Linked DNA regions of Homo sapiens: region 2 is linked to region 1. The links are contacts of gene promoters, found by promoter capture Hi-C in blood cells and fetal thymus (Javierre and others, 2016). All regions are on one chromosome and are shown on one strand. Each heading gives the region's core, a stretch centred on a gene start or on the middle of the fragment in contact. The rest is flanking DNA. Distances are from core to core; before and after follow the strand shown. Region 1 holds the start of TUBG1 (tubulin gamma 1). Region 2 has its middle 27 kb from the start of G6PC1.

What was found. The method cuts DNA at HindIII sites, captures the fragments that hold promoters and counts their contacts. A CHiCAGO score of 5 or more calls a contact.
Region 2: a contact is called between a fragment that was not itself captured here and the fragment with the promoter of TUBG1 in region 1, in 1 of 17 cell types (megakaryocytes). The highest score is 5.2, in megakaryocytes.

The regions. Positions count from the first base shown.
Region 1 is chr17:42,605,372-42,612,191 of GRCh38, forward strand. It overlaps TUBG1 (tubulin gamma 1), which reads left to right and starts at 4,312. Exons shown (of 11, transcript NM_001070.5): 1 at 4,312-4,415; 2 at 4,737-4,849; 3 at 5,052-5,219; 4 at 6,704-6,772. The coding sequence starts at 4,367. RETREG3 (reticulophagy regulator family member 3) reads right to left here and starts at 4,003. Exons shown (of 9, transcript NM_178126.4): 1 at 3,715-4,003. The coding sequence starts at 3,953. RefSeq lists an enhancer at 3,885-3,994. The HindIII fragment of the contact is 4,939 bases long and covers 3,259-6,820 here.
Region 2 is chr17:42,924,060-42,930,879 of GRCh38, forward strand. No RefSeq gene overlaps it. Among named protein-coding and RNA genes, the nearest start is that of G6PC1, 27 kb to the left of the region's middle. RefSeq lists enhancers at 4,390-4,966, 4,856-5,005. The HindIII fragment of the contact is 6,600 bases long and covers 1-4,550 here.

The sequences.
Region 1 (6,820 bases), core at 3,062-5,561:
TTCAGATTTGATTTTTCTGACTTGAGCTAATGATCCTCCTCCCTTTCTTAAACATTTAAAATGTTTGTTAACTGAACAGTCAGTCACTCTTCCACATTTCTAAGCGAAATGTCAACACTCATACTCAATATGACACTACTAGAATGTGAAGCCCAAATTTCATTTTAAATCTCTAATTACCTACCAAGGAAGCTCATTTCCCCAAACAATTCTGTGAACTCCAATGCCAGACTATCCAAGTTTCTGGGGACTTAACAGTATCTGTGCCTTTCACATGTAGGAGTCCTCTCCAGAAATGGCATACCCAACTGTTCTTTTAGTCTCAAGAGTCACATTGTCGGCCAGGGACAGTGGCTCACACCTGTAATCCCAGCACTTTGGGAGACCGAGGTGGGTGGATCACCTGAGGTCAGGAGTTCAAGACCAGCCTGGCCAACATGGTGAAACTCTGCCCTACAAAAATACAAAAATTAGCCAGACGTGATGGTGGGTGCCTGTAATCCCAGCTACTCGGGAGGCTGGGGTGGGAGAATCGCTTGAACTTAGGAGGTGGAAGTTGCAGTGAGCCAAGATCACGCCATTGCACCCCAGCCTGGGTGACAGAGCGAGACTCCATCTCAAAAAAAAAAAAAAAAAAAAAAAGTCACATCCTCATTTTGTTGTCTCTCTCCTGCACCTTCTTAAAATGTGATGGGACTGTAACAAGAGTAACTGTGTTCTGGATACACAACAGACAAGCTACTAGGAAATGCCAAAGATAAAGACCAATCACAGCAATGCTTTAAGAGACCCAGAGTACAAAAGGGGTTCTAAGTGAGCCTCTAAACATAGCATGTTAATAAGCTTAAGTAAACACTGGTAGAGGCCAGCAAATTAAAGCTAGCTGTAACATCTAAAGATATGTCCCAGTCACAGCAGCTCTTTATGTGCAGACCTCAACCTCACATTCTGCTTCAGAAACCTCTCTCAGACAAGCGGCAGAAGAAAGGTCCCCTCCTCGCAGATCACGAGGTCAGGAGATTGAGACCATCCTGGCTAACACGGTGAAATCCCGTCTCTACTAAAAAAAAATACAAAAAATTAGCCGGGCGTGGTGGCGCGTGCCTGCAATCCTAGCTACTCGGGAGACTGAGTCAGGAGAATGGCGTGAACCCGGGAGGCAGAGCTTGCAGTGGGCCGAGATGGCGCCACTGCACTCCAGCCTGGGCGACAGAGCGAGACTCCATCTCAAAAAACAAAAATTAATTAAAAAAAAAAGGTCCCCTCCTCAAAAAGAACAGCATACATGCTACTAATTCATTTGCATTCATAAATCTTTGGTTTAAAAATCCATTTAAGGCCCGGTACAGTGCAGTGGCTCACACCTGTAATCCCAGCACATCGGGAGGCTGAGACAGGTGGATTGCTTTGAGGTCAGGAGTTTGAGACGAGCCTGGGCAACCTGGCAAAACTGTCTCTACAAAAAAATACAAAAATTAGCCAGGCATTGGTGGCGCATGCCTGTAATCCCAGCTGCTCGGGAGGCTGAGGCAGGAGAATCGCTTGAACCTGGGAGGAGGAGGTTGTAGTGAGCTGAGATCGTGCCATTGCACTCCAGCCTGGGCAACAAGAGCCAAACTGTCTCAAAACAAAAATAAGTAAACCCTGATAAAGTGTTTTTTTCCATCAGGCAGTCATACTTTGATACAAATTGGTTTAATGAGGCCCAGCCTTCTTGCTAGAGATACCAAAACCACTGTGGGAAATGTTTTGACTGGATAAAACACTCTTCAGTGAGGTGCTATAGTGAAGATTTCTACAGAGAGCAATGGGAATCAGTACCTAGGGGTCAAGGAAGAAGCACTTGGCTGGGCACGGTGGCTCATGCCTATAATCCCAGCACTCTGGGAGCCCAAGGCAGGAGGATCACCAGAGCCTAGGAGTTCGAGACCAGCCTGGGCAATATAGTGAGACCCTGTCTCCACAAAAAATTTAAAAAATTAGCCAAGCATGATGATGTGCACCTCTGGTCCCAGCTATTGTGGAGGCTGAGGTGGGAAGATTGCTTGAGCCCAGGAAGTGGAAGTTGCAATGAGCCGAGATCATACCACTGCACTCCAGCCTGGGTGATAGAGCAAGACCTTGTCTCAAAAAAAAAAAAAAAAAAAAAAAGGCCAGGCGCAGTGGCTCACGCCTGTAATCCCAGCACTTTGGGAGGCCGAGGCAGGCAGATCACCTGACCTCGGGAGTTCGAGACCAGCCTGACCAACATGGAGAAACCCCATCTCTACTAAAAAAATACAAAATTAGCCGGTTGTGGTGGTTCATGCCTGTAATCCCAGCTACTTGGGGGGCTGAGGCAGGAGAAATGCTTGAATCTGGGAGGCGGAGGTTGCAGTGAGCCGAGATCACGCCATTGCACTCCAGCCTGGGCAATAAGAGTGAAACTCTGTCTTAAAAAAAAAAAAAAGGGAAAAAGCACTACCAAAAATAAATGAAGAACGTGGTAGGAAAAGTTTACCATCGAGTTTGCTAAAGGCTCTGGAAGCCACAAATGCCAGAGACTACTGTGACACCTTTAACTGGGTCTCTTTCAAACTGGGAGAGGATTAGCTTAATAGCTGAACACTGTTTTCGGGTCAATGAACTTGGAATTATTTGTTCTGCTTCAGCTCACTGAAAATCTTTCAGATAAAGGATAATAAATGTTTTGATTTTAAAACAAATTTTAAGGGGAAAGCTATTTTTAGCAAAAACACAATTAAAAAACACACATATTTTGTTGTTTCAGGCTTATCCAGAATAGTCTTAATCCATTCAGCAGCAGAAAGCCCCCTATAAGTCAGTTCCCTTGGAACCTCCTCCATTACAAATAAATCCAAAATTATGGTTGGTAGATCCTATGAAGTCCTAGGTCCACTTCAGGTGATGACAACTGAGAGAAGCAGCAGTTCCATTTTCACAGAGCATGACACACACAAATAAAGCATATTTACAGTGCTACTTTTCCAGCTCAGGAAAACTCACACACAGTATTAGACATCAATTTCCTTGCCTATAAACCATGGCTAAGGATGCCTCTCTAATTCCTTGGAACAGGGAGGAGTTACAATCACAGGTGGCTTTGACACGCGTGTAATCTCCGTCATCATTTCCTAACTGTTCTTTAAAAGCTTGTAATTTTCTTTCAATTTTCAGCTTTGGGGGCTCACACTGACGCTTAGACTTCATAAACTTCCTTCCTAGATATATAACATGCTAATTCATGCGAATCGCTCAAGCTTGTTTTATAATCACACCTATGGATACCTTTGCAAGACTTCACGCCTCTACTCCAACAATAAACTACTAAAACCTCTGGAAACAATCTAGAACTTGCACTTGAGCAGACAAGAGAAAGGAAGTGATGGCTTTAAAGGGACGCAGCTTTGTCGGGCTCAAAAGAGGAGCCCTCGCTCACTCTTGAGCGGCTCAAGATGTTACCAGAAGCTCCCGCCAGATGTGCGGGGCGGGGGTGCGGGCACAGGTAAGGCAGAGAAGATGGGTGGACGGCCCTGGGAAGAACTAGGGTGCCGAAGCCTGCAGGCGGGATGGAGTGGAAGGAGGTGAGGCAAAATTAGGCAAGTACAGGAAGGAGCCAGTGCAGCGAAGAAAACAGGGCAGGCGAGAAGTAGAGCCCTAGAGGAACCAACGAATTCGGGACTCGGAGGGTTTCCGAGGGTCCAGTTCTCTCACCAGAAAGCCGCGTTCAGCCCCAGGCACCACAGAGCGCTCCTAGCTGGCCGCTCCCACACCAGGGCTGCCTGCACCCGACTCAGCAGAGGCTCGTAAGGCCCCAGCACCTCCACCAGGGCCCGCTGCGCCGCCTCAACCTGCTGGTCCCGCTCCCAGGAGCCTGACACATCTCGGCGGCCCCTGAAAGTCGACCCCGAAGCCGGGCCTGGGGTCGTGGGAACCCCTTCGGCCTCAGCCATCTCCCCGCGGCAGCCACAACATCCGGGGCCGTGGCCCGACAAGTCACAATAACAGCAACTGCGCAGATGCGCGATTCGGCGGGGGAGGTGGCTTCGCACCACAGCGCGCTTGCGCGCAGGCCCAAGCAGGCGCCCACCCAGAGGGGAGGGAGGACGCCGTACCCCGCCCTCACTGAGGCGCGGAGCCGGATCCGGAGGCGCCGAGCCGCATCCGGAGCCGCGCACGCGCAATCTGCATGAACGAAGGCCAGTGCTTAAAGACGTGCCATTCATTGCCAGAACTCGATTCTCATTGGAGCGGAGGAAGTTCGTGGGTGGAGCTGGTTGTTTGGCGCCTGCGTCTTGCGGCGAGCGGGCTGGCGTGCGGCGCCGTTGCGGGCGGGAGCGGCTGCAACGCCGGTGCCTGAGGAGCGATGCCGAGGGAAATCATCACCCTACAGTTGGGCCAGTGCGGCAATCAGAGTGAGCGAAACTCCGGCCCCTCAGCTAGCCAGGTTCCTTAGGGTCAATGGGATCTCGCTGTGGGATCCTGGACTCCATCTGTCCTTGCCAGAATCGTAGTTCTCTGAAAGGCGAGACATCCCTGACCCAGTGTCCACTTGCCCAACCCCGAGGGGCCCTCCCCTGCCCAGTCCCTGGCGTACAGTCCTTTCCTCAGACACGGGAGAGTCCTGCGGCTTGACTTCTTATCCCTGGACGCAGGCGCCCAGTCCCCCGGCTCCTGATTGGAACCTGCCCGGACCTAGATATCTTCTTTCTCCCCTGCCCGCCCCTTCCCCCCAGTTGGGTTCGAGTTCTGGAAACAGCTGTGCGCCGAGCATGGTATCAGCCCCGAGGGCATCGTGGAGGAGTTCGCCACCGAGGGCACTGACCGCAAGGACGTCTTTTTCTACCAGGTGCCCCCAGCGACTTGGCCGGGGGCGGCAGTTGCCCAAGGGGGCGGAAGGGAAGGGAGTGGCCTGGTACTGGGAACCCCGCTGGGCAGTAGGGCCAGGCGGCTGGCTTGAGGAGGGAGGGCCGGAGGGAGCCAGAGTTGGGAGGACTTCGGACTTGGGCCGCCCTAGCTGATTGGGCCCCCTCCTGGACTCCCCTTGACAGGCAGACGATGAGCACTACATCCCCCGGGCCGTGCTGCTGGACTTGGAACCCCGGGTGATCCACTCCATCCTCAACTCCCCCTATGCCAAGCTCTACAACCCAGAGAACATCTACCTGTCGGAACATGGAGGAGGAGCTGGCAACAACTGGGCCAGCGGATTCTCCCAGGTCGTTTCCTATTCCCTGGCAGGGCCCACAACTCGCTGGGTAGGGACAGGCTCTATGACGTCCCGAAGAGAGGGAAAACCGGATCAGGGATGTATGAATGCTGGAGGGAGAGACCTGGCTGCAGGGAGTGGACTATGTAATATTGTCAAGCGCCTACACTAGCTAATGCAGTGTGCCAGGTCATTCTAAGTGCTTTACATATATTAATTTTTCTAAATCTCCCAACAACCCTAGAAGTAAGTACTACAGGTCCACAGTCCCTTATCTGCCTTTCCAGGATCCAGAAAGCCATGAAACCAAAGGACATTTCATAACTAGTTTATCAGCAAAAACAAATTTCAATGAAGACAGGCTGTTTTATAGTTTCTTTTTTTTAATTTTTATTTATTTATTTTTTTTGAGACGGAGTCTCACTCTGTCGCCCAGGCTGGAGTGCAGTGGCACGCTCTCAGCTCACTGCAACCTCTGCTGCCCGGGTTCAAGCGATTCTCCTGCCTCAGCCTCCCGAGTAGCTGGGATTACAGGTGCTTGCCATCACGCCTGGCTAATTTTTGTATTTTTAGTAGAGACGGGGTTTTACTGTGTTAGCCAGGGTGGTCTTGATCTCCTGACCTCGTGATCCACCTGCCTCGGCCTCCCAAAGTGCTGGGATTGCAGGCGTGAACCGCCATGCCCGGCCCTATAGTTTCTATCCAACTTACTGTCATTAGTGATGCCTTTTATTACAGAAATACTAATATATTTGATTAACGTGCTTCTGATTAAATAAAAATTCCCACTGGAATTTTATTTAATATATAGTATATATACCATAATACCTTTCTAAAATCTGAAATATTTTGAATTCCAAAACATAACTGGCCCCAACACTGTTAGATAAGGGTATATGGACCTGTATTATTACCTTCATTGTACAGATGAGGAAACTGAGGCATAGAGCAATTAAATAAGCTGCCCAGAGCTACATAGAAGTAGAGTTAATGGGCCAGGCGTGGTGGCTCACGCCTGTAATCCTAGCACTTTGGGAGGCCAAGGCAGGCAGATCACCTGAGGTCAGGAGTTCAAGACCAGCCTAGCCAACATGGTGAAACTCTGATTCTACTAAAAATACAAAAAATAGCTGGGCATGGTGGCATGCGCCTATAATCCCAGCTACTGGGGAGGCTGAGGCAGGAGAATCGCTTGAACCCAGGAGACGGAGGTTGCCATGAGCCAAGATCGCGCCACTGCACTCCAGCCTGGGAGAAAGAGAGAGACTCCATCGCAAAAAAAAATAGAGCTAATGTATGAACCCAGGTAGTCTGGGTGTAGAGTGCTTTCTTGTAACCACTGCACCGTACTGCCTCTCAATGTAGATAAAAGCAGGTAGCTATGCTCCATAAAAGGACTTCTGGGTGTTATAAGGAGAATTGAGGGTGGCTTTTCTGAGGTCAGAGACCTCCCATGGTTCTGTCCCACTCTGACCCTCCCCTATGTCTGTACAGGGAGAAAAGATCCATGAGGACATTTTTGACATCATAGACCGGGAGGCAGATGGTAGTGACAGTCTAGAGGTAAGTGTCCCAGGAATGCTGGTAGGAGCCGACATGGGCAAGGCTTGG
Region 2 (6,820 bases), core at 1-2,500, 320 kb after region 1:
GGCCTTCTACTCTGTTTTGAAAAAAATCAATTTTAAAAATGCAATGGTTCGCAATCAGCCTGGGCAACATAGTAAAACCCATCTCTACTTAAAATACAAAAAAATTAGCCAGGCTTGGTGGTGCACGCCTGTAATCCCAGCTACTCGGGAGGCTGAGGCAGGAGAATCATTTGAACCAGGGAGGCAGAGGTTGTAGTGAGCCGAGATTGTCCCACTGAGTGTCCAGTCTGGACAACACAGCAAGACACTGTCTCAAAAAAAAAAAAAAAAAAAAGCGCTGCGCACGGTGGCTCACGCCTGTAATCCCAGCACTTTGGGAGGCCGAGGCGGGCAGATCACGAGGTCAGGAGATCGAGACCATCCTGGCTAACACGGTGAAACCCTGTCTCTACTAAAAATACAAAAAATTAGCTGGGCATGGTGGCGGGCGCCTGTAGTCCCAACTGCTCAGGAGGCTGAGGCAGGAGAATGGCATGAACCCGGGAGGCGGAGCTTGCCGTGAGCCCAGATTGCGCCACTGCACTCCAGCCTGGGCGACAGAGCGAGACTCCGTCTCAAAAAAAAAAAAAAAAAAAAAAAAAAAGCAATGAATTTCTGTATATTCTTCATGTAAATCACCAACTACAGTATTCACATGTTGCCACATTGCTCTATCAATCTCTCGCTATATATGTGTACATATTCTTCGTTTTTGATCATTCGTTTCAGCAAAATTTACAGTCACCATGGCCTTCACTTCTAAATAATTTCATGTGTCTCCCAAAAGCAAGGACATTTTCTTACATAGCTACAACAACATGTGTTCTTTTATAAATGAACCTCAGTTTCAAAAAAAAAAACAACACTCAGTTTAAGAAAAACAAAAAATTAAAAATAAACTGAGGCAAATTAATTATTTTCTGTTTCAATATCTTGCACTCTGGGTTCAAAGACCTCCTTGCTCGCTGAGGCTCACCTGCCCTGCCTGCCGCTCGTCCATACCCCCAAGCTGTGGCCCATCCCTGCAGGGGAACATTCCGGAAGACCCTTGACTCCTTGGCTCTGCTGAGCCTCAGCTTCCTGCTGGGGCTTTGAATGTCTTAGTGCCAATCTACTCGTTTCCTTCCTTCTCTGACAGCCAACAAGTTGATCATTCAATTAACAGAACACTTAGATTACTGTCAACTTAAAGTTAACATCTTTATTACTGTAATAAGAAATTTTTAACTCTAAAGGTTTCAAATTATTTGTTCATAAAATCCCTTATGATTACCACTTATGTAAGCAGGGTCCATCTTTTAATTTAATAATTTTTCAGCTGGAACAATTCGTTCATTTCACAAGTATTTATCAAGCATCTGCTATATTCCAGACATTTCTGGAATTAAAATAGCTAGTATAGGCCGAGCGCGGAGGCTCACGCCTGTAATCTCAGCACTTTGGGAGGCCGAGGCAGATGGATCACCTGAGGTCAGGAGTTCAAGATCCGTCTGGCCAACATGGTGAAACCCTGTCTCTACTAAGTACAAAAAATTAGCCAAATGTGGTGGTGCATGCCTGTAATCCCAGCTACTTGGGAGGCTGAGGCAGGAGAATCACTTGAACCTGGGAGGCAGAGATTGCAGTGAGCTGAGATTGCGCCACTGCACTCCAACCTGGGTAACAAGAGTGAAACTCCTTTTCAAACAAAAAAAAATTTTTTTTTTTTGTAAAGACAAGGGCTCTCTATGTTGCCCAGGCTGGTCTTGAACACCTAGACTCAAATGATCCTCCTGCCTCAGCCTCTCAAAGTGCTAGGATTACAGGTGTGAGCCACCACACCCAGTTTAGGTTCTTAATATTTTACCCCAAACCTGGTCATCTCTACAATTCTGTATCTCAGTGAATGGTAAGTCCATCCATCCACACGCTATCTTCCTCCTTCCCATCCATCCTCCATCCATCAAATCCTCTTACTTTTACCCCTTAAATATCTCTAAAATCTGCCATTTCTTGCCATTTCTACTGCTGCCTACCCCAGATAAAAGTCACCACCATCAATGGCAATGGCCTGCAATGGCCTTCTTTTTTTCTTTTTTTTTTTTTGAGACGGAGTTTCACCTTGTTGCCCAGGCTGATCTTGGCTCACTGCAACCTCCGCCTCCCAGGTTCAAGTCATTCTCCTGCCTCAGCCTCCCAAGTAGCTAGGATTACAGGCCCATGTCACCACGCCCAGCTAATTTTTATATGTTTAGTAGAGACGGGGTTTCACCATGTTGGCCAGGCTGGCCTAGAACTTCTGACCACAGGTGATCTACCTGCCTCGGCCTCCCAAAGTTCTGGGATTACAGGTGTGAACCAACGAGTCCAGCTGCAATGGGCTTCGTAAATGTTCCCTGCATTCACTCTCGCCCTTTTCATATCCATTCACCAGAAGACTGATGGAGTGATCTTTTTAAACCCAAAATCTGATATCACACTCTTGCTTGAAACTTTTTAATGGATTATCACTGTTCTTAGGATATAAATCTTTATTATGAAAAACTTGGCCAGGCGCCGTGGCTCATGCCTGTAATTCCAGCACTTTGGAAGGCCGAAGAGATAGGATTGCTTGAGTCCAGGAATATAAGACCAGCCTGAGCAACGTAGTGAGACCCCCGTCTTTATTTTTTGCTTTTTTGTGTGTTTTTTCATTTCTGCTTTTTTTTTTTTTTTTTAAGACGGAGTCTTGCTCTGTTGCCCAGGCTAGAATGCAGTGGCTTAATCTCAGCTCACTGAAACCTCCACCTCCCAGGTTCAAGCAATTCTTCTACCTCAGCCTCCCGAGTAGCTGGGATTACAAGCACACACCACCACATATGGCTAATTTTTATGTTTTTAGTAGAGACTGGGTTTCACCATGTTGGTCAGGCTGGTCTTGAACTCCTGACCTTAAGTAATACACCCGCCTCGGCCTCCCAAAGTACTGAGATTACAGGAGTGAGCCACCCTGTCTGGTCTCACTTCTTTTTGTATCTTTTTCCTTCATCTTTTATTTTCTACCCATCTCTCCATTTTTAAATTAATACATACATAAATTTTAAAAAGGAAAAAAACTTGTACATGAATATTCAGAGCAGGATTATTCATAATAGCTAAAAAGCAGAAACAACCTGAATGTCCATCAACTAATGATAAATAAACAAAATATAGCCTAGCCATAGAGTGCAATATTATTTGGCCATGGAAGGAATGAAGTATGAATACATGCTAGAGTGTGGATGAACCTTGAAAACATTATACTAAGTGAAAGAAGCAAGGCACAAAAGATCACATACCATATAATTCCATTTATAGAAATGTCCAGAATCGGCAAATCCATAGAGACAGAAAGTAGATTGGTGGTTGCCTAAGGCTAGATGTTTGGGGGAAATGGAGAGTGACTGCTGAAGGCTGCAGGGTTTTTTTTTTAGGGTGACGAAAATGTTCTCAAATTGACTGTGGTTATGTACAACTCTGTGAATATACTAAAAACCAATGAATTGTATTTTTTTCTTTTTTTAATTTCTTTCTTTTTTTTTTTTTTTTTTGAGAGAGTCTCACTCTATTACCCAGGCTGGAGCACGGTGGCATGGTCATAGCTCACTGCAGCCTCAACCTCCTGGGCTCAAGAGATCCTCCCAACTTAGCCTCCAGAGTAGTTGGGAATACAGGTAGATACCACAATGCCTGGGTAACTTTTTAATTTTTCATAGAGATGAAGTTGCACTGTGTTGCTCAGGCTGATCTCAAACTCCTGGCCTCAAGCAATCCTCCCACCTTGGCTTCCCAAAGTGCTGGGATTATAGGCATGAGCCACCATGCCCGGCTGAATTGTACATTATTTATTTATTTTATTTTATTTTTTTGAGACAGAGTTTTGCTCTCATCCCCCAGGCTGGAGTGCAATGGTGTGATCTCAGGTCACTGCAACTTCCGCCTCCCAGGTTCAATCAATTCTCCTGCCTCAGCCTCCCGAGTAGCTGGGATTACAGGCACCCACCACCACACCAGGCTAATTTTTATATTTTTAGTAGAGATGGCGTTTCACAATGTTGGCCAGGCTGGTCTCAAACTCCTGACTTCAAGTGATCCACCCACCTTGGCCTCCCAAAGTGCTGGGATTACAGGTGTGAGCCACCGCACCCCAGCCACAGCATTTCTTTTCTTTTCTTTTCTTTTTTTTTTCTTTTTGAGATGGAGTCTCTCTCTGTTGCCCCAGACTGGAGTGCAGTGGCGCAATCTCAGCTCACTGCAACCTCCACCTCCTGGATTCAAGTGATTCTCCTGCCTCAGCCTCCCAAGTAGCTGGGATTACAGGCATGTGCCACCATACCCAACTAATTGTATTTTTAGTAGAGACGGGGTTTCAGTATGTTGGCCAGGCTGGTCTTGAACTCCTGGCCTCAAGTGATCCACCTGTCTCTGCTTCCCAAAGTGCTGGGATTACAGGCATGAGCTACCTCAACTGGCTACCAAATTGTGCATTTTAAATGTGTGAATTTTGTGGTGTGTGAATTATATCTCAATAATGCTCTTACCAAAAAAAAAAAAATCTTTATATGGCCTCTGAAAGCTTACCTCAGCTGGACCTTGTCTACCGCACCTCACCTGGTCTCCTTCACCTCATTCCACAAAGCACAGCCAATGTCATCTTGGTTCCTCCAATGCAACACACTCCAGCCCTCCTCCGAGCTTGGGCTTTTACACACCCCCCTTCTTAGAACACTCTTCTGCCTCTTCACATAATTCAGTCCTCCACATTGGTATCACTTTCTCAAGGAAGCCTCCCTGCCCACCCACCATGAGTCATGATCAAGTTCCTCTTCTGGGCCTGCCAAAGCACCCCTTTTACTTTGCTCTCTACCAAACGTCACTTTGTGATTATTTGGATCATGTCCGTCTTCCCCACTAGACTAGGCCCCATGAGTGCAGCTCCATGCCTGCTTTGCTCACTCTTGCACTTAAACCCTGTGCCTAGCCCTGGCCTAACACATGAGGAGGACTCCAGATATCTTGGTTGAATAATAAATGAGCAATATATTACTGTTTGCCCCTAACTTGGAAAACAAATGATAGGTTCAACAATTCTAGAGCTCCACAAATGACTCAGCAAAAACATGTTCGGAGGCACTCCCAACGTGAAATTAGAAGGTTGGAAACTCAGAGGACGGGACAGGCTTAGATAGAAACATTGGCCTCTTCCCAGGTAAGTTCTCCCCAGGAGGTGGGGAGCAAACTCTCTGAGCAGCCAGTTACAGGGAACTCATGACTAAGCTCTGTTGCTGTTTATCAAGATACACACTGACTCTCAGAAGTTCTAGCGTGAACCAAATCCTGCTTCAACCCCATGGGCTTTCAGTGTAGGACTTTTTCTTTTTGTTGGTGATCACACACCCTACTGGTGGCTTAACCAATTACATTGCCTCAGCCCCTGTGACACTCCAGCTCCGCGTCCCCTTTATGATGCTTCAAATATCATAAAAGCAGAGAAAAATCATATGTCATATATCAGAAAATCATATATCAACTTTTTTTTATTTTGAGGTCTTTCACACACTGAACTTATTTTAATCATAATTGTCAATTATAAATAAACATAATTACTATGTTCCTTTTTTGATGTCAAATTGTTGCAATTTGGACAGTGGCTTCCTTATCCTTCTACCATTGCTGGCCTAAAATCCTTGTGTTCTAGGCCCATTCCAAATTTTCCTTGTTCCAAGACACAGAATCAGCCACCCACTAAGAAGTCTCATTTCCTTTTGATGGGTGCACGAGAGTGGGAGGTTAGCAGAAGAAATGCTGTTAATGGGCTAGGTGCAGTGGCCTAGCCTGTAATCCCAACACTTTGGAAGGCTGAGGCAGGAGGATCACCTGAGGTCAGGAGTTCGAGACCAGCCTGGCCAACATGGGGAAACCCCATATCTACTAAAAATACAAAAAATTAGCTGGGCGTGGTGGTGTGTGCCTGTAATCCCAGCTACTCAGGAGGCTGAGCCAGGAGAATTGCTTGAACCCAGGAGGCGGAGGTTGCAGTGAGCTGAGATCATGCCACTGCACTCCAGCCTGGGCAACAGAGAGAGACTTCATCTCAAAAAGGAAAAAAAAAAAAAGAAGAAGGAAAAGAAATGCTGTGGCCAGGGCATGGTGGCTCACGCCTGTAATCCCAGTACTTTGGGAGGCTGAGGCAGGTGGATCATGAGGTCAGGAGCTCAAGACCAGCTTGGCCATTATGGTGAAACCCCATCTCTACTAAAAATACAAAAATTAGGCAGATGCCTATAATCCCAGCTACTCAGGAGGCTGAGGGAGGAGAATCACTTGAACCTGGGAGGCAGAGGTTCAGTGAGCCAAGATTGAGCCACTACAGTCCAGCCTGGCAACAGAGCGAGACTCCATTTCAAAAAAAGAAAAAAGAAAAAGAAAAAGAAATGCTGTTAATGAACTGTATTTTAGGGTCAGAGCCAGGAAATTATATTTCTCTTAAAGCTTATGGGTTCACAATAATGTTTCCAATTGAACTCTATGTTGTAATTTTTTATTCAATATAAAATATTTTCAGGCCAGGCCCGGTGGCTCATGCCTGCAATCCCAACACTAGAAGGCAAGACGGGAGAATTGCTTGAGACCCAGAGTTCAGGACCAGCCTGGGTAACATACCGCAACCCCCTCTCTATAAAAGAAAAAAAAGATATAATTGTTTTCATTTATTTTATCTGCAATATTCCTGCATAGAGATTTAATCTTCACCCTCACTATAATTGCATTTCCTTTACTAGCCCTCATTTGCCTTGCCAACCGCCATTATACCGTCCCTTTGCTGATGGTGATGTCTGTTGGC